7 separate regions of the Homo sapiens genome follow, and regions 1, 2, 3, 4, 5 and 6 are each linked to region 7. The links are contacts of gene promoters, found by promoter capture Hi-C in blood cells and fetal thymus (Javierre and others, 2016). All regions are on one chromosome and are shown on one strand. Each heading gives the region's core, a stretch centred on a gene start or on the middle of the fragment in contact. The rest is flanking DNA. Distances are from core to core; before and after follow the strand shown.

Evidence for each region. Contacts are between HindIII fragments. The CHiCAGO score rates a contact against its expected background, and 5 or more counts as called.
Region 1: a contact is called between a fragment that was not itself captured here and the fragment with the promoter of EIF3A in region 7, in 2 of 17 cell types (naive CD8 T cells and non-activated CD4 T cells). The highest score is 7.0, in naive CD8 T cells.
Region 2: a fragment that was not itself captured here is called in contact with the fragment with the promoter of EIF3A in region 7 in 5 of 17 cell types (fetal thymus, neutrophils, non-activated CD4 T cells and 2 more); the score reaches 7.1 in fetal thymus.
Region 3: a fragment that was not itself captured here is called in contact with the fragment with the promoter of EIF3A in region 7 in 1 of 17 cell types (non-activated CD4 T cells); the score reaches 6.9 in non-activated CD4 T cells.
Region 4: a fragment that was not itself captured here is called in contact with the fragment with the promoter of EIF3A in region 7 in 1 of 17 cell types (monocytes); the score reaches 5.8 in monocytes.
Region 5: the fragment with the promoter of SEC23IP here is called in contact with the fragment with the promoter of EIF3A in region 7 in 2 of 17 cell types (fetal thymus and naive B cells); the score reaches 9.0 in fetal thymus.
Region 6: a contact is called between a fragment that was not itself captured here and the fragment with the promoter of EIF3A in region 7, in 11 of 17 cell types (naive CD4 T cells, fetal thymus, non-activated CD4 T cells and 8 more). The highest score is 11.2, in naive CD4 T cells.

Annotation. Positions count from the first base shown.
Region 1 is chr10:119,839,463-119,842,162 of GRCh38, forward strand. MCMBP (minichromosome maintenance complex binding protein) reads right to left here. Exons shown (of 16, transcript NM_001256378.2): 11 at 1,381-1,498. Among named protein-coding and RNA genes, the nearest start is that of MCMBP, 32 kb to the right of the region's middle. The HindIII fragment of the contact is 3,624 bases long and covers 1-2,700 here.
Region 2 is chr10:119,726,995-119,729,694 of GRCh38, forward strand. The region is part of intron 1 of INPP5F (inositol polyphosphate-5-phosphatase F); the gene reads left to right. Among named protein-coding and RNA genes, the nearest start is that of INPP5F, 2.3 kb to the left of the region's middle. The HindIII fragment of the contact is 656 bases long and covers 948-1,603 here.
Region 3 is chr10:119,686,706-119,689,405 of GRCh38, forward strand. No RefSeq gene overlaps it. Among named protein-coding and RNA genes, the nearest start is that of BAG3, 37 kb to the left of the region's middle. RefSeq lists enhancers at 1-867, 868-1,804. The HindIII fragment of the contact is 948 bases long and covers 778-1,725 here.
Region 4 is chr10:119,920,978-119,923,677 of GRCh38, forward strand. SEC23IP (SEC23 interacting protein) reads left to right here. Exons shown (of 19, transcript NM_007190.4): 12 at 1-7. Among named protein-coding and RNA genes, the nearest start is that of SEC23IP, 30 kb to the left of the region's middle. RefSeq lists an enhancer at 848-1,017. The HindIII fragment of the contact is 1,492 bases long and covers 566-2,057 here.
Region 5 is chr10:119,891,357-119,894,056 of GRCh38, forward strand. It overlaps SEC23IP (SEC23 interacting protein), which reads left to right and starts at 1,374. Exons shown (of 19, transcript NM_007190.4): 1 at 1,374-1,589. The coding sequence starts at 1,427. RefSeq lists enhancers at 89-600, 601-1,111, 1,112-1,622. The HindIII fragment of the contact is 6,362 bases long and covers 1-2,700 here.
Region 6 is chr10:119,860,946-119,863,645 of GRCh38, forward strand. All of the region lies in intron 1 of MCMBP (minichromosome maintenance complex binding protein), which reads right to left. Among named protein-coding and RNA genes, the nearest start is that of MCMBP, 11 kb to the right of the region's middle. The HindIII fragment of the contact is 4,934 bases long and covers 1-2,700 here.
Region 7 is chr10:119,079,376-119,082,075 of GRCh38, forward strand. EIF3A (eukaryotic translation initiation factor 3 subunit A) reads right to left here and starts at 1,442. Exons shown (of 22, transcript NM_003750.4): 1 at 1,253-1,442. The coding sequence starts at 1,301. RefSeq lists a silencer at 907-1,166 and enhancers at 1,172-1,934, 1,362-1,656. The HindIII fragment of the contact is 5,277 bases long and covers 1-2,700 here.

The DNA.
Region 1 (2,700 bases), core at 183-2,682, 760 kb after region 7:
CCTCAGTGATTCTAAGAAAACGGGGAGCTTAGGGGTGCTTAAATGACCTACCATGTATTAATTTATTTGTTGGTCTTCTACCTAAACTCTGTGAGGGCAAAGGATCTGTTTCAATAATTCTCAAAATGTGGTCCCGAGAACCCCCAGGGAATTGCTTAAACCCTTTTACAGGGTCAATCAGGTCAAAATCATGCATGGATAAAAGATCCTTTCAATGTGCGAGACTAATGAATTTTACCATAGCAGACTATGGAAAGTTTACGAATAGGATTTCAGATTCCACACTTAACTATCTTTAAGAAAATCTCATGTGGACAGTTTTGGTCTAGTATCAAAGACCACCACCCAGTTATCTGCAAAGGCTATCGAAACCATCCTTCCTTTACCATCTACTTTTCCATCTGTGTGAGGCCAGCTTTCCTTCATATACTTCAACCAAAACCTGAGACTACAATAGACTGAAGGCAGAAGCAGATACAAGCATCCATTGTCTCCTATTAATCCAGACATTGAAGAGATTTGCAAGAATGTAAAACAATGTCACCTTTATCACTAATCATTTTTGGCTTGGGAAAAGTTGTTTTTATAAAAATATTTATATGTAATTTTTTATTTTTAATAGGTGTATTTACTTTATCTTCTAGTTTGGTAAATTAATGATAAATATAATCATAACGTGAAAAACAGCTCTTTGAGTATGAACACATTTTTCAGAGTGTAAAGTGAGTCTAAGGAGACTGAGAACTGCTGGTATATTCCAGTCCACTTCTGCTTCTTGAGGGCCTGGACGAGTGTTAGCACTGAGACACTGAATACATTCGGTTCAATAAAGATCTAGTGCACCCTCTTCAATTTCCAAAGAAGTGATCAGTATTTTCAGTCACACAACTAATCAGAAGCAATTCCCCTGTTCCCAAGATCCTACCACCACGCAAATACTGCATTCCAGATACCCTGGCAAATAAAGTGAGCTCAACTTTCCAAACAGGAATTAAAATTGAGGCAATGGAGATAAAGAACTTTATTACCTCAACTAAAAGAATTATGCTCCTACAATTTAGAGTTTATTTAGATTTAAGACTTTAGTGTACAAAAAGGATACCAAATTGGACAAATTGGTATCAAGAGAGTGTAATTTTAAGGGAGTTACTACAATTGTTTTGTTAGACTTACAGAAATTTGTGCTTAGGCAAAAAGACAAAAAAAAGTGAAATGTTTAGGGGAACGTACATTTTAAATTATGTAATTTGGCAGGCTTTGTTTCCCCTTAAATAAGATCTATTAAAATCTCTAAGTTAAATATTTGAAGTGAATGAAAGACAGTTAGATGGATTTTTTAAGTGTGCTTAGGTTTATAATACATATTTATATTCATCTTACTGCTGGAACAAGATGTTGAATAATTCGATACAAGTGTTCTGTGAAGGTACTATTCCGTGGGCAACCACTCAAGTTAACTGTAAATTTTCCTAGTGGAAGGACATCTCTTCTTGTATATCTAGAAAAGAAAGAAATCAATCAATAAGATGCTGAAGTGACTTCCTGATTTCTATCAAATAGCGAAGAATAGAAAAATTAGCTTAATATTGTCATTAAAAATAAACCAGAATATTCTGACCAGTTATTTTATCAGAATAACAGCAATAAAAGTAATAGCCAATATTTGTACGTAAGTGCTGCTGGTCACGTGCCAAAGACCGTTCTGAGTATGTAAATGCTTCCTCATTTAACCCCTAACCATTCAGCGGTAGGTGCTGTTGTCTTTGCTTCACAGATGAGAAATCCGAGGCACAGAGATGATAATAAGCAACATGTTCATCTAAATGGAAGCTGACAGAGCTGGGATATGAATCCGGGTAGTTTGGTTCCAGAGCCTGTGCTCTCAACCATTATGTACTACTGTCACAGACTGATTTGAGAAAAGATAAGATTTACAGCACAAAGATGTTTCCTGCAACTTTATAATAGAGAAAAGCTAGGAAAAGCTAACATTTAGGGAAATGGTTACAGTATGGTACAACTGCATAGTGAAATACTTTGCAGCCACTACAAAGTTCATGAAGCATTATGATGGGAAAATGTTTAATATATATCAACTGCTGAAAACAAGACACGCATCTGTGCTTAGAGTGTAACTAAGACCTATGCAAGGATGTATACATATGTAAACAAAAACCAATGAACATGTACCTAAAGGTTAACGGAGGTTCTAAGTGGTGAAATTACAGATGATGTGCATTTTCCTCCTTATGTTCTTGGAACTTGTCAAAGGCCCACACTAGTTTTAAAATGAGAAACAAAGAAATACAGTGGAGTCAAGGGATGCGGTGCTAGTGTCAATGTCCACGTTAAACGTGCACATGACGTGGGCGCCTTGGGATGTATAAACAGAGCGTTCAGAATGCAAAAGGGATAAAACAGCTCATTTTACTCATCAGCCAGGTCCTTTATCTCAGGGGTCCCCAACGCCCAGGCCGTGGACCAGTACTGGTTCATGGCCTGTTAGGAACCGGGCCACAACATAGGAGGTGAGGGGTGGATGAGTGGGCATTACCGCCTGAGTTCCGCCTCCTGTCAGATCAGCAGTGGCATCAGACTCTCACAGGAGCGCGAACCCTATTGTGAACTGCACATCTGTGTGTTCCCTATGAGAATCTAACTAATGCCTGATGTTCTGAGGTGGAACGGTTTCATACTGAA
Region 2 (2,700 bases), core at 26-2,525, 650 kb after region 7:
ATGTATTGTGGGTCCATGTTTGGGTGTCATGTAAGCTGTTCGGAGAGGCTTAAGTCTGCAATTAGCTTGCTTTAGGAAAATGTGTGTGCAGTCGTGGTTTAAACAGAGCAGTCCCTGCCCTCAGAGCGCTGACAGTCCAGTTTCTTGTAAGATGGGGCTGGGTGGCACCTGCCCCTTTTGGCTTGCTAATCCTTTCCTCATATCACTCAGAGATTCTTCCACTTTAGGGAAAGCGAGAGGATAGAGTTCTTTAAGGAAGGAGCCAGAGCTTTTCAGACTTACTTGTAATTCTTATGTGCAGTCTAGACAGAAGGATTACATGATATGAATTGAAAAGGATAAAAGGTTCAGATGAGCTTTTCAGATCACAGCGTGGTATCACTTATAGGATGGTTTTTAAGGACAGGCCCTTTAACATATTATTTCCAATCCCCACAGCAACCTTACAGGACACGTGTGGGATCCTCTTTTTCAGGTGAGGAGAAAGGAGTGAGAGGTTATTAGTAACTCGTTCGGGGTCACAGCCTAGAGTTGAGACACTGACACAGGGCAGTTCTGTGACCTCCAGAACACTTTTGGGCAGGCCCCACTGCTTTCTTAGGAAGGCCTACTAGTTGCTTTGCCAGAGCAGTGAAGGATAACTTATTTTTTTCCTCAGGCTCTGTCTATATTTTCTTGCTATTACGTTGTATTTCCTCTTTTCAGAATGGAGGATAAACTCCTTGGCCCAGATAAAGTTCTTGATGATCTCGGGATAGAGTTATTATGGATAGGCTAATTTTGGCCAGTCTTCTGTCATTCTCTTCTCTGATTTGACCATTTGTCTGGCTTTCTCCCCTTCCCTCCTTTCACTCCCCCAAATTTGGGTAAGGCTTCAGTACAGCTTGAAGTAAAGCAGATTTCAAAATTCCTAGGTTGTCAAAAGAGTCAACTCCTTGGATTCTAAAAGCTTAGACTATTAGAACTGGATGGGACTTAAGATCGTCTCCAACTCATCTGACAACAAACTTTTCTACACCCCAGTTTCTTGAACTATAAAGGCTAACCTGCGCCTAGATTCTTGGATGAAGCCATGCAGTTTGGATTACTGTTTGTTCAAAGTCCATGTCAGAAGGCAAATTTAAAACTTTTTTGGGGGAGGAAAGTAGCTATAGCCTTTGCACTTGAGATTGGCATACTTTTTAGAATATAGCGGGCCACAGACCAAGTAGACCAAATGTCTGGAGGAAGGAAGAGGCCATGTTTCAGAAGTAACAGCCAGTTTTGATCTTAAGGTGTTCAGGATAGCCAGGGAATAAAGAATCCCATGCACTTGATTTTCCTATAGTTTATCCTGTCCAGGACTGAAGATCCTTTCTAACTAATGGCTATTTAAGAATGGCATTTTAATTGAATAAGTGCTTTTCAGATCTTTTTCTGTATATGGAATCATTTAAAATTCTCTTTATTTTATTGGACTTTTCCCCTGTGCTTTTATGGCAAGTTTTGCTGCTGTTTGTAGTGACAGCATTTAAAATCTTTCATTGTTTCCTACTGGTTATTTAGCTGAATAGATTACTAAGTCCTTTTCTTTTTTGAAAGGGCAGTATTATAAGCTCAAAAAAGCTTGTGGGCATCGTGGTTTTTACATTCGTGACTATTGAACAACCTGAAACAAGAGTTTTCCTTTTTCTAGAGACATCAGAAGGATAAGTAATGATGATATTTAAGATTAAAATACTCATTTATTTAGCCTGGAATGTTTGTTACTGTCAACCCCTTTTCCTACCTAGTCCATTCCATAAGACCCAGCTCAGATGCTACCCCTCATCCTTGGGGCAGAATTATTGGCCACCTTTATTGTGTTTCCAGGCATTTTCTACACTTAGTGGACACTTCAATTCTAACCCTTATGCATCATCATAATAAAAGTTTGCCTACTTCTTCCCCGGTGGGAAGTCCCAGTGTGTTCCCCAAGGCAAGGGCTGTATTTACTCCTCATCTTGGTGTCTCTAGGCTTTAGAGTACTTAGGACAGAGAAGGCGTTTTTGTTTGAGTTGAGCTGAATTAAAGTTAAGTCTAAGTTCTCTCTCAGTAATATCATTGCCTTAAAAATAAGATGTTGTATTATGTTTGTTGCTCTTTTTAGGCCTGTTTTTTTGGGGGAGGGGGAAAGGGCGGGGCGGGCAGTGGACAGAGTCTTGCTCTGTTGCCCAGGCTGGAGTGCGGTGGCGTGTTCTCGGCTCACTGCAACCTCTGCCTCCTAGGTTCAAGCGATTCTCCTGTTTCAGACTTCTGAGTAGCTGGGACTACAGGTGTGTGCCACCTCACCCAGCTAATTTTTGTATTTTTTGTTAGAGATAGGGTTTCGCCATGTCGGCCAGGCTGGTCTCAAACCCCTGACCTCAGGTGATCTGCCCACCTCGGCCCCCCAAAGTACTGGGATTATAGGCTTGACCCACTGCGCCTGGCCTCTTTTTAGGGCTGTTTTGAATATATTTTAATTGGAGTGGAAAATCTCTGTCCATTTGGATGAGGAAATATGAGGAAAGGTACACCTGCACTTGTGTTATATTTCTATCTGATGTAGCATTATCTCATTATCTTTTTTTTTTTTTTCTGAGACAGGGTCTTGCTCTGTCACCCAGGCTGGAGTGCAGTGGCGTGATCATGGCTTGCTGTAGCCCCTACCTCCCGGCACCAAGCTATTCCTCCCACCTC
Region 3 (2,700 bases), core at 2-2,501, 610 kb after region 7:
CCTGTCCTGCTCTCTCAGGGAGCAGTTCCTGACGGTGGGCTCCATTTTATAATAGAATGACTCACCTGAAGAATCACTTCTTTCATTATTTCGTATTCCTCACAATACCAGTGACACACAAAGGCTTTATTTGAAAAACCAAGTAAAGGAAACGAGCACAGGATGTCTGTGCTGGTCTGGTCGGCGTTTATCTCAGCTGGTGAGAACGCAGCCACGCCTCTGTTCACACTGTCATTCCTCCAATAAATAAGATATCCCTGTTTTCTAAAGTCAGGGAGATTTATGAGTCAGAAGTAATCGGATCCACAATCTGATTAGAATTCTATCCTCATAACGGGAGCTGACCGCATCCGCATCCATTTGTGGTCCGGCCCAGTCACCACTTGGTTGGTGTTCTAGCACTATAAGCCAGACTGTGGGGTGGGGGAAGGTGAGTGCTCCCCGCACTTTAATGCCGGGCTTATTTTTCCCTAAGGACCAGGATCGAAATAATGTTAACAGGAAAAACATGCTTCCTCGTATGAGACTGCAGTATTTCACCTTGTATGAGAAAGGAAAAATGAAGGGTGAGACCTGCTTGTTTCTTACATAACTAGGGAGAAATCCATCCCCCCTCTCACCCCGTAGCTCTTCCTGGTGGCAGTAATGATCAGAACCGGGAGTACCCAACTTCTTTCATGCTTGGGGGACTAGAGCTGCCCCCTCCATGCAGAATGGGCAAAGTAAGGGCAGAGGAGATCCATTAGCATCACAATAGGCCTAAAGCCTGCATTTGAAAGCTTCAAGAAAAGACTGAGAGGCAATCTCTTGCTGTTTCCCCTAAAGGCAGATTGGCAGATCAGTCCTCCTATCCGGAGCAGCTAGAAAAGCTGGCAAAACAAACAAGACCTATCTGAAGGTGAGCCGCCAAGGGGGTGAGGATTTGAGGGTCAAGGTCCTGGAGAGAAGGGTTAGCAGAGCTTTGAATTTTGAGGCATTTGCCTATTTCATGAGGCAGAGAAGCTCCCAGCAGTCTCATGCTAAGGAAGGAAGAGCTCAAGTAGTCGCCGCCAGCTTTCAACTTCCAAAGGGCCTCACCCTTTGGAAGGAACAGGAATGAAAATAGAGAAACTCTCACAAAGACTGAAACCCAGCTTCCCATTGGCTTACCGTTTGACTGTGTTACAGGAAAGGGGTCTTGATCCAGACCACAAGAGAAGGTTCTTGGATCTGGAGCAAGAAGGAATTCAGGGTGAGTCCATAGAGTAAAGTGAAAGCAAGTTTATCAGGAAAGTAAAGGAATAAAAGAATGGCTACCCCATAGGCACAGCAGCCCCGAGGGCTGCCGGTTGCCCATTTTTATGGTTATCTCTTGATGATATGCTAAACAAAGGGTGGATTATTCATGCCTCCCCTTTTGAGACCATATAGGGTAACTTCCTGATGTTGTTATGGCATTTGTAAACTGTCATGGTGCAAGTGGAGTGTGGCAGTGATGACAACCAGAGGTCACTGTTGTCACTATCTTGGCTTTGGTGGGTTTTAGCCGGCTTCTTTACTGCAACCTGGTTTATTAGCAAGGTCTTTATGACCTGTATCTTCTGCTGACCTCCTATCTCATCCCATGACTTAGATTGCCTAACCTTCTAGGAATGCAGCCCAGCAGGTCTCAGCCTTATTTTACGCAGCCCCTACTCAAGATGGAGTTACTTTGGTTCAAACGCCTCTGATAATTGGATTAGGGCAAGCTTTCGCAACCTCAGTGCTATTGACACTGATAAATTGACATTATCAGTGGACCATCCTATGCAATGTTTAGTATTCCTGGCTTTTAACCACTGGATGCCAGTAGCACCTCTCCTTCCCCAAATTCTGACAACCAAACTTTCTCCAGACATTGCCAAATGTCCCCTGGTGGGGAAAATCACCTGTGGTTGAAAACCACTGGATTAAGGGTGCCTGCCCAGACCCCAACTGCCTTCCAGAAGCAAAAATAAATCTTACTATCATCTAGGGCCTCAAATTATATCTGTAATTTTTCATACATGATATGCAGCACTTAATAAAGAACAAAGCTTTAAAATACATAACAAAGTTGACAGAACTAAAAAGAGAAATAGACAAATCCACAATCATAGTGGGAGATGTTAAGACACATTTCTGAGAAAATGATGGACTAAGCAGAAAAAAAAAATCAACAAGGTTAGGGTAACAGGGTAAACTACGGAGAGAAGTATCTGGAGGAAAAGAGAAAGGTATCAGGTCTGGGTGCGTGAAAGAGGGGTTGGCAGGAAGGGGGGTATTGAGCGCAGATGGAGAAATGGAGAGAAAAGGAGGGTCTTTGTGGGCCCCCTCTTTCTGGAGGCTTAATTCTATAAGACCTTTTCCGCATGAACGGTACAAGGGAACTGTGTCGTTTCCTTTGTTCCTTCATCCAGACTATACTGGCTGCTCTGTGAAATCTATCTGTACCTCCAGTCTGCCGGAGGCATGTGAACCAGAGCAACTTCACCTTGAATAGGAGCTGGGTAAAATGAGACTGAAACCTACTGCACTGCATTCCCAGAAGGTTAGGCATTCTAAGTCACACGATGAGATAGGAGGTCAGCACAAGATACAGGTCACAAAGACCTTGCTAATAAAACAGCCTGCAGTAAAGAAGCTGGCCAAAACCCACCAAAACCAAGATGGCAATGAGAGTGACCTCACTGCTACACTCCC
Region 4 (2,700 bases), core at 62-2,561, 840 kb after region 7:
CAAACTGGTAAAGTTCACCTCTGACTCAAGAAAAACTAAAACTCATGGTGTGACCAGCTCGTTTATATTATAGAAAATTTTAATACTACTATGGTTAGGTAAGCTAGTTTGCTCCCTACCTAGGGCACAGTAATGGAGCTGATGGAAACCCAGACTTAGGAGTCAGAGTTGGGCTTAAGTCCACATTAGGCTAAGTGACCATCCTGGTTTTCCTGGGACTAAGTTCCTAGGATGAAGGGCTTTCAGTTTTAAAATGGATATTTAAGGTTTTCCTGGTGCAAACAGTGGTTAAGTTCTGACAAATAAATTCTCAGCTCAACTGCTCATTAACTGCGTATTAATGAGCAATTTGTATTTGGTTTTATTCATTTGTTTATTTTGAGATGGGATCTTGCTGTGTTTCCCACTGCTGGTCTCAAACTCCTGGGCTCAAGCTATCCTCCCGCCTCAGCCTTCTGATCATGAGTGATTTTCTTAATTTTTCTGATCCTTTGTTTTCTTCATTTCTAAAATGGAATAATACCTTCCTTACAGGATTGGAGTAAGCATGAAATAATGCATGCAAAGCTTAGCACCAAGTAATAGCTCACTTTCTTCCCAGTCCTTACCATCTAAAGAGATGAGGAAAAACATACACACTGAAGTCTTAAACACTAAACAGCAAAAATTGTTAACAATACAAAACAAGGCAACAGCTAAAAAGCATTTAAAACTAGAACAACTGGAAAATATACTTGTTTTATTAATTTTAATTTATTGATCAAATTAATTTTACAGAGGTTTTCTAATTAGAAAAATTAGATGACTCTTAGGGTGGCCGTCTTATTTGTATTGTTATTAACATGCTCTTTGATGATCCTTCCATCTTTTGAATTTCTATGGTTCTATTATTTTACTACCTGTTTGGAACTTAACCTACATCATTTCTTTATATGGGAAATGACTATAAAGTCATAGGACTGATTTTTTTTTTAATGGTTAGCTTAAGGAATTGAGTCTTCTCAGCATTTTATTGAATAGCAGCTACCTCTTTTGAGTCAGGCACTGTGTTCAATTCTTGGGAGCCGGAGATTAACCAAGAGTGTGCTGTCTAGTTGCGGGGAGCACGTTGAGCTCAAATGACAACATACCAGCCCCATAATAGCGTGCTGTGTGTGCTGTCCTGAGGCAGATGAGAGGTGGCAGTTCTGGCTTGTTGAGACAAGCATGGGGTTGGTGAGAGAAGACTTCTCCAAGGTGATGGTGCTTGAGCTTGAAGGAGGGGTAAGGTCAGGGGAGATGGCCTTCTGGAATCTGGCATGTGTTTTCCTGTAGCATCAGGGAAGCTGGAAACTGGGAAGGGCAGAGGGTTCCAAAGGCCCAGGTGGCAGGTGTGGAGGCTTGGATTTTCTCTTGTAAGGGAGTGGTTTTCAAACATGTTCTTATGGCCATGAAAGTCATGGTGTTTTTAAACATTACAAAATGCTGACCTGCTTATTCTATCACAAGTTATGATTTAGCACCAAATCATCTGTGTAGTCTAAATTTTAATTTTAACTTTTGGACTGTGGAGAGTTTGCTTGGTCACAGTGCACAGATGAAGTTGGAAAGGCGTGAAGTGGAGGCGGCTGCAATCTTACATAGTAGTAATTGTAATTGTACAGTGACTGAAAGAGAGATGATAGGGGTATAAGGTAGGAGGTGGAGAGGAAGGGAGCAACTCAAAAGACATTTTAGACATAGACAAGCAGTATTTGATTAAGTGCTGAGAAAGGTTATTAGTTTTGGCAGTTAAGAGGTATCTTTCATGTCATTTTTCTTGTGTGTTGAATCGTTCTGTAATTCCAATTTACAAAGAGCTTTTCATCTCACCTGAGCCTCACAACAACCCTGTGAGTAGATCCCCAGGCTTTTGTCTCTGATGAGCACAATAGTCAAACTGAGACTAGGACACAAGCATGTCAGTGTTGTTTCTGTATACAGGCTGCGTGCTCCATACAGAAAAATGCTTGTCTCCGTGTATACATCAGTGAAGCAAAAGCCTATAAAAAAAAAAACAAAAAAAACAAGAAATGAGAAGCTTTGTGTTCAGGCCCTACACCATGTTCTTAATTTATTCTGTAATGAAAGGGAAAAAAGTAGAAAAGGATTCTATAGTTCTTGAAGAATTTCTAGAAGGAGACTGGTTTATGGACTGCAGTTGCTTAGATATATAAATTATGGCATTATAAGAATGTTTTGAAATGAGCAAAAATCTATAGAGTGATCTTATTTTTTAAATTAAAAGGTAATTGCCTTTGGATGAACCATGAAACTTTCTCAGCTGAGTTGCCATTGATTGCTTTACACTTCTTACAGATAACAAGGTGCTACTAGATCAATACAAAAGTAATATGGTGTGTCCTGTTGATTTACTGTAACTGAAATAATGGGACCAAAATTAGCGATTATTTTATAACAAGGAGATCAAATATTTGTGATATTTGTGACTGTGTGCTTTTTTTTTCTTTTTAAAGCATCTTAGTAATTTTCATTTGAAAAGGAATTGTTTCTAGTGTTGGGGATATTGATAGTCAAGTATGTATATGTTGGTTCCGTTTTTTTTTTTTTGAAAGGGAGTCTTGCTTTGTCTCCCAGGCTGGAGTGCAGTGGCACGATCTCGGCTCACTGCAACCTCTGCCTCCCAGGTTCAAGCCATTCTCCTGCTTCAGCCTCCCAACT
Region 5 (2,700 bases), core at 124-2,623, 810 kb after region 7:
CAACCTCCAAGAAGCTGAAATATGGCTTAAGTTATATTTTCCTTCAAAATCTCTAACTATGAAAGATGACAATTATGTCCAAGTTATCCACAGTACCTCCTGGATTGAAGTAAGTCAGCTTACTGTGGATATAGAAAGCTATCTAAAATGTCAGATCTCTAATTTCAATGCCCTGGTTTCTTTTTTTTTCTTTTTTTTTTTTTTAAGGAGACAGGGTCTCGCTGCACAGTGAGTGGCAAGATCAGGGTTAATTTGGCCTCAAGCAATATTCCCGCCTCAGCCTCCTGAGTAGCTGGCAATATAGGTGCTATGCCACCAAGCCCGGCTAATTTTTGTATTTTTAGTAGAGACGGGGTTTCACCATGTTGGCCAGGTTGGTCTCAACCTTCTGGGCTCAAGCTATCCTCCCGCTCTGCCTCACAAAGTGCTGGGATTGCAGGCCTGCGCCATGGCGTCTGGTTTGATTTCTCTTTTAAATATTTTTTTTGGCCAGGCGTGGTGGTTCATGCCTATAATCCCAGCAGTTTGGGAGGCCAAGGCGGGCAGATCACGAGGTCAGGAGATTGAGACCATCCTGGCCAACCCGGTGAAACCTCGTCTTTACTAAAAATACAAAAAATTAGCCAGGCGTGGTGGCGGACGCCTGTAGTCCCAGCTACTCGGAGGCTGAGGCAGGAGAATCGCTTGAACCCGGGAGGCGGAGATTGCAATGAGCCCAGACTGCACCGCTGCACTCCAGCCTGGGCGACACAGCAGACTTGTCTCAAAACAAAAAACAAAACCAACCAAAAAAACAAAAAACAAATGCAAAACAAAAAACAACAAAAATAAAACGAAATATTTTTTTCTCCCTATGGATTAAACACTTAAAAAATGTTTTACCACTTCTATTTCTGGGTCAACCACAATGTTCGGTTCCATCCAGAAAGACAAGTGGGTTTTGGAGAGGGTGTTTGGTTCCGCCTAGCATGCGAATTCCCATTCCCGCACAACGCTCTTCCTCCCTTCCTCCTTCCGGTAGCGTCCAGCAGGATTCCGCTGTTCCTCCAAAATCTTTGTCAGGAGAGCCATCCTGACGGTACCTTTAGGAAGCCCATAGATACCCGCCACAACCTGTGACTTTCAGGGTCAATTGCGTCTCAATTCGCACGTCTATCCAGAACCTGCGGGGACCACGTCCCCATCCTCCCGCCCGGCCTCCGCCTCCGAGGGTGTCACGTGCTAGACGCGGGCGTGAAGACAGTGTCGCCATGTTGATATCTGGCGTCGCCGTGTAGGGGAAGGGAGAGGGCGGCTGACTAGCTACCCGTAATTTCGGCTCCTGTGCGCAAGTGCGGAAGTGCGCTGGCCAGGAGCGTGATCGGTTTCCGGTCAGTGGTGTGGTACCGGGTACCCGGAGACGTGTATCGGACGGTGGGCCGCAGCCATGGCCGAGAGAAAACCTAACGGTGGCAGCGGCGGCGCCTCCACTTCCTCATCGGGCACTAACTTACTTTTCTCCTCCTCGGCCACGGAGTTCAGCTTCAATGTGCCCTTCATCCCAGTCACCCAGGCCTCCGCTTCTCCGGCCTCCCTGCTCTTACCGGGAGGTAATAAGGGGAGGGCGGCCCCGTGTGTGGTGGGAGGCGGGCGGGGGACGTGCAATGACAAAGGTCAGACGGGAGTTTTTCCTTCTGCCTCGAGCTACCCTCTGGATAGCTTGCCAGGATCATTACTGGCCAGGTTTGAGTGGGTCGGGGGCTTTGGGATCTTGGAGGTGGCAGGTGATGAGACTTGCTCTTCACGGAAACCCCCTGTTCCGAGTTGTCCAGAGTGCTGGACATTCATTCGTACCCTGGCATTCCGCAAATCTTTGCTGAATACCCGTTGTTGGTACGCCAGGTGCTGGCAGGAAATGCAAATAAATTAAACAGTGGCCCTCTCCTAGGGTACAGTAGTCTGTCTCCCACTAGGAGACTCCTAGGATACGGTAAGATACCTCCTAGGATGGACTGTGCCCCTCTCCTAGGATACGGTACACTGTCTCCTACTAGGAGATTGTTGTGATACAGTACAATATCTTCTAGGTTACAGTAAGATATCTTATAAGATGGACTGTGCCCCTCTTCTAGAAGCCTGTAATATTTGTGAAGTAGACATATACAATGCATTCCTTATCTTTTTTTTTTTTTTTTTTTTTTTGAGACGGAGTCTTGCTCTGTCGCCCAGGCTGGAATGCAGTGGCGCGATCTCGGCTCACTGCAGCCTCCACCTTCCAGGTTCAAGTGATTCTCCTGCCTCAGCCTCCCGAGTAGCTGGGACTACAGGCGTCTGCCACCATGCCTGGCTAATTTTTGTATTTGTAGTAGAGACAGGGTTCCACCATGTTGGCCAGGATGGTCTCAATCTCCTGACCTCAAGTGATCCGCCTGCCCTGGCCTCCCAAAGTGCTGGGATTACAGGTTTAACCCCCCACCCATTCCTCATCTTTCAAGACAATACATCACTTCTTCCAAGAAGCTGTTTCTTGTTCTCTTAGGCCCCCACTCCTATGTGCACTCCTAGCTCTTTTTTCATATTTGTATTATTGTCCAGGGAGATTGCTTTTTGATGATTATGTAGCATTGCCCAGAGCATAGTGTTTAAGAGCACAGACTGTCTGTATTCCAGTCCTTGCCCTGCCAGTAACTTGCTGTGTGACTGTAGGCATTTTACTTTACC
Region 6 (2,700 bases), core at 64-2,563, 780 kb after region 7:
GTGTAGTTACTATTTACTCCTTACAATTAACAAGCCATCTACAGCAGGCACTTATGGGAACTGGCCAAGACCAAAAAGTGAGCTATTGACGGAATACAGATTTATGTGAACTAAAACCACCAAACCACACAGCTGGCCAATCCTGCTGTTTATATTCATCACACAAGTGTTATGAAGATTTGGAGTAAAAAATAAAAAGTCTACACTTGTTATGGAGCTGCATCTGTTGAAAAGGACCATAAAATCCTAACACCATGTTTGAGCAGGACTTCCAAACACGTTTACTTAACTGGACAAGGGCCAGTTGTGAAAAAGAAGTAGGGATGGGGGACTCCTCAGGTGATACTAATGTGTAGGCGTTAAATCCACTAACAAACTAGTCCTCAAAGTTGGTTCCCTGACCAGCATCATTAGCATCATCTGAGTACTTGTTAGAAATGCAAATTATTCAGCCCAACCCCGAACCACAGAATCAGAAACTCTTAGGGGTGGGGCCTAGCAATTCATATTTTAAAAAGCCCTCTATGTGACTGACTATAATGCACATTGAAGTTTAAGAATCGCTGCTCTACTAGATACAGTGAATTGGGTAAAAGATAAGTGGGTATTTTCGCTTGTATTCAAAATGGATGTTTAAAGAAAAGACTATTACACAGCCACGACTGCCACACCAACTATTCTGCCTGCAATTGTGTAAAAGACGTGAGAATACCACATAACAAATAGTAAAGCTACATCAAGCAGTGACTGGGGAGCAGCAAGTTATTTCTAAGTTACTTGAATGTATATAAATGCAATTTTCTTTTTTCAGGCAGGGTGTTGTGTTGCTTTGTCACCCAGGATGGAGTACAGTGGTGTGATCCTGGCTCACTGCAACCTTAATTTCCTGGGCTCAAGTGATCCTCTGGCCTCAGTCTCCTGCGTAGCTGGGACCACAGGCACGGGCCACCACGCCTGGCTAATTTTTAAATCTTTTTGTAGAGATGGAGGTCTCCCTATGTTGTCCAGGTTGGTCTGGAACTCCTGGGCTCAAGTGATCGATCCTCCTGCCTCTGCACTTAAAATGAAAAAATCCTCTTGGCTGGGTGCGGTGGCTCACACCTGTAATTCCAGCACTTTGGGAGGCCAAGGCAGGCGGATCACCTGAGGTCAGGAGTTCGAGACAAGTCTGGTCAATATGATGAAACCCCTTTTCTACTAAAAATACAAAAATTAGCTAGGCGTGATGGTGTGCGCCTGTAATCCCAGCTACTTGGGAGGCTGAGGCAGGAGAATCGCTTGAACCTGGGAGGTGGAGGTTGCAGTGGGCCAAGATTGCCCCATTGCACTCCAGCCTGGGCGACTAGAGTGAATCTTCGTCCCCCCCCACACCACCTCCTCCACCACGCAAAAAGAAAAAATTATCAAGACACTGGATTCCTCCAGACTCCATGTGTGTCCTTAGGATCCAACTATGTATCCTTACCATATTGCTGCAATAAATCTTAGGAGGAGTACAACTATACAGTGAATCATATAAGTCCTAGTAAATCTTCAAGCATATGGGTGGTTATAGGACTCCCCAACACATTTGTATATCAATACTTCATTTCTTTTTATTCCTATTATTCCTCTGAATAACAACCAATTTGTTTATGTATTTGCTTGCTGAAGGACATTTAGATTGTCTTCAGGTTTGACAACTATAAACAAAACTATAAAACACGTGTCTGCAGGTTTTCATGTGAACATGAGCTTTCATTTCTCTAGAATGAGTATCTAGATATGACACAGTTGAGTACATGGTAAATGTATGATTAAGATTCTACCTGTCTTCCAGAGTGGCTGCACCATTTTGCTAAGAGATCCAGCTGTTCCCATCCTTGCCAGTACTTAGTACTATCACTATGTATTTTTAAATTTTAGCTGTTCTAATATGCAATATCATGGCTTAAATTTGCATTTCCCTAATGGCTAACAATGCTGAACTCTTCTCAGGGGGATATTTGCCATCCTTGTATCCTATCTGGTGAAATGTCTATTTAAGCCTACTTAAATCTTTTGCCCCTTTTAAAATTGAGTTTTTAAATTACTGCTGTGTTTTCTTATATATTCTGGATTCAAGTTCTTTTTCTGATACCGGATTTTCAAATATATTCTCCCAGTGTATAGCTTGTCTTTTCATGCTCCTAATAGAATTTTTTTTTACAGAACAAAGGTTTTTAATTTTGATGAAGCCCAATTTATCAAATTTTTGTTTTACGCACTGTGCCTTCGGTGTCATGTCTTAAGAACTCATTGCCAAACCCCAGGTCACAAAGATCTGTTTTCTTCTAAAAGTTTTATAGTTTCAGGTTTTATACTCAGATGTATGATCCATTTTGAGTTAATTTTATATAAAATATGAGGTAAAGGTTGAGGATTTTATTTTTCCATGTAAATGTTAAATTGTTCATGTCTTTGATGAAAAGAATATCCTTTTTCCATTTGAATTAGCTTTTGTATCTTTATTAAAATGCAGCGAGGGCCAGGCGGGGTGGCTCACGCCTGTAATCCCAGCACTTTGGGAGGCCGAGGCGGGCGGATCACCTGTCAGGAGTTCAAGACCAGCCTGGCCAACATGGCAAACCCCCGTCTCTACTAAAAATACAAAAATTAGCCGGGCGTGGTGGCACACGCCTGTAATCCCAGCTACTCGGGAGGGTGAGACAGGAGAATTGC
Region 7 (2,700 bases), core at 192-2,691:
ATCAGTTTATGTGCTGACTCAAACTGCCATTTTCATAAGATGAATTTTCAAAGAAGCTAACAAAATAAGCTCTCCAAACATAAAACTGTAACTCACAAGGTATATTCATCTACAACATGGGTAAAACCCGAAACTTCTATTTCGGTGAAGGAAGGATGAAAATAAGAGCTATCCATGCCCTAACGATTAGAAAAATTGTCCGGTTAGAGGGGAAAAAAAAAACCCTACACAAAGTTTCTTAAGCCCAGAGCCTAGCCAAGAACATGTGCATCCCCAGAACGCCAATGTAATAAATGCCTTGGAGAGATCGGGGCACACAAGTTTTTCCCTCAAGCGCCAATGGCTGAAGTACACATATAGAAATAGAAATCGCAGACAGCAGCACTGTGGCAGAAAAAAAGAGAAAAAAGGACTGATCTGGATGTCAAGAGACGTTGGTTTTAAGTCTCTTGGCTCAACAACTCCCGGAGTGACCTTGGGGAAACCTCTCTCTAGGCCTGTTTCGTTATCTTTAAGAGGCGACCTGAAGTCCCTTTACATTAACTCTATTCCAACTTCCAGTGATTCGAAACAGGCTTTAGGACTGCTTCTAATCAATGCCAGGAAAAATGAAAAAACAAAAACAAAACAAAACAACAGGAATCAGGTTAAATGGGTCAGAGGCCCCTAAGTGGATATAAAGCAGCTGGGTAAAGGGTAAGTGGACGCCGACCCAGCAAAGCACTGAGCGCGGCTTGGAGAGCGGGGGTGGCTGCGGGAAGGCCGGGGGTGGGTCCGTAGGGCTCCCGGCCCGGGCAGGAGGTGGAGCCGAGGCTCTCGCGTGCATTGTCCCCGGGAGGGAGCCATGTTTCTTACTCCCCGGCACTCCCAGATGGCGGCCGGGGACGCGGGCCCTAAGCAGACCAAAGCCCCAGGGACCTGGAGAGCCAGAGGACGCAGGCAGCAAGGAGGGAGCTCCAGTCCGGGTAGGGGCTGTCTCCCGGGCTGCGGTCCCCGCGACGCACCCGGAGGCGGCAGGGGGAAGGAAAGGCCCCTGGGGCGACGGTTCCGGGCTACGCGCCTCCCAGACCCCAGTCGATAGAGTGAGAAGGAAACCCATGCCCAACCACCGGCTGGGACAGCGGCGGGCAGGCCGCATCGGTCTCCTCTCCCCGCGCGGGCCGGGCGGCGGAGCAGTGGGAAGCAGGCCCGCGCTCTCGACCTCGGAGGCCTCGGGCCGCCCCAGCCCGGCGCGCCCCGATCAGCTACTCACCGTTGGCGCGTTTGAGGGCATTTTCCGGCCTCTGAAAATAGGCCGGCATCTTGGCGGCAGGCTCAGCTCACCCGGCGTCAGCGAACTCTCTAGTGGCCCGGGCCGGGAGAGGAGACGAAGGGGAACCAGCGTAAGGTCCCACGCGCCTCGCCAGCAGTCGCCCGCGCCCAGCCGGCCAGAGACGGAAAGGAAGGAGCCACGTGACCTCCCCGCGGCGGCCCTGCTGCCGCCCAGGCCCCGGATGTAGGGGGCGGGTCTCCGTGCGCGCAAGCGCGCTGGCGTCACGCACGCCGACAGACGTGGCGGCGCCGGAGTCCTAGGCGCGCAAGGTCCAGTTCCCGTCTTGGGCCTGTCCTGGATAGCGTTAGGGAGACAGTTCACAGGCTCTTCAATCTTCGAGCGAGAATTAGGGTGGGAAGGGTGAGTGTGGGGTCAGAGTTTCTGTCTGGAGAACAAGCAAACGTCTGCAGATTGGTTTTCAAAGCGACTTGTGCGGAGTCGTGCAGTTACAGTAAGGTCCCATCCAGCCTGGGAATCGCCTGTCTTGGCTACGTGAAAATGCTGAGTTTAACGAAAACGCAGTGAGCAGGTGTCATCAGGTCAGCGCCGCTCAACCGTGAGAGACAATCATGGGGAAGAGTGACGCCTAAAATAAACAAGCAAGGTTCTTTTATATCTTGGTAAAGTAAAAAGTTTGTGTCACAGGGATTGCCTTGAGAAATGGAGGCTCTCAGAGGGGGCGAATGGGGACAGCGACCTGGCAAAGGGCGAAACGCCCTGGAGCACAGCAGACTTGCTTGGTGTTTGAAAACACACGGAAAGGAGTGTCGTCACTTTTTACATACAGCGCACGTCACAAACAAATTAAGAAAAATTAGTGTTAGTGAAAAAAATCAATCTGAGAGGCCCTTTTATTGTTGCTTAACAATTTTAATGTTCGCAGACGAAGTACTTTACCTAGAATTTGAAAACCATTTGAACCGAATCTAATTCTCAAGCCCTTGGTACGAAATAAAGGTGAGCTCAGAAGGAAAAAAATTTTTTTTTTTTTTGAAACGGAGTCTCGCTTTGTCGCCCAGGCTGGAGTGCAGTGGCACGATCTCGGCTCACTGCAAGCTCCGCCTTCTGGATTCACGCCATTCTCCTGCCTCAGCCTCCCGAGTAGCTGGGACTACAGGCGCCCGCCACTGCGCCCAGCTAATGTTTTGTATTTTTAGTAGAGACGGGGTTTCGCCGTGGTCTCGATCTCCTGACCTCGTGATCCGCCCTCCTCGGCCTCCCAAAGTGCTGGGATTACAGGCGTGAGCCACCGCGCCCAGCCCAGAAGGAAAATTTAGAAGGCAGCAGTGAAATAGATTATTGTCAATGTATTACACATTTAATAGACGAGATATGTGAATTAATGAATGAGGAAATCGGCCGGGCATGGTGGGTCGCGCCTGTAATCC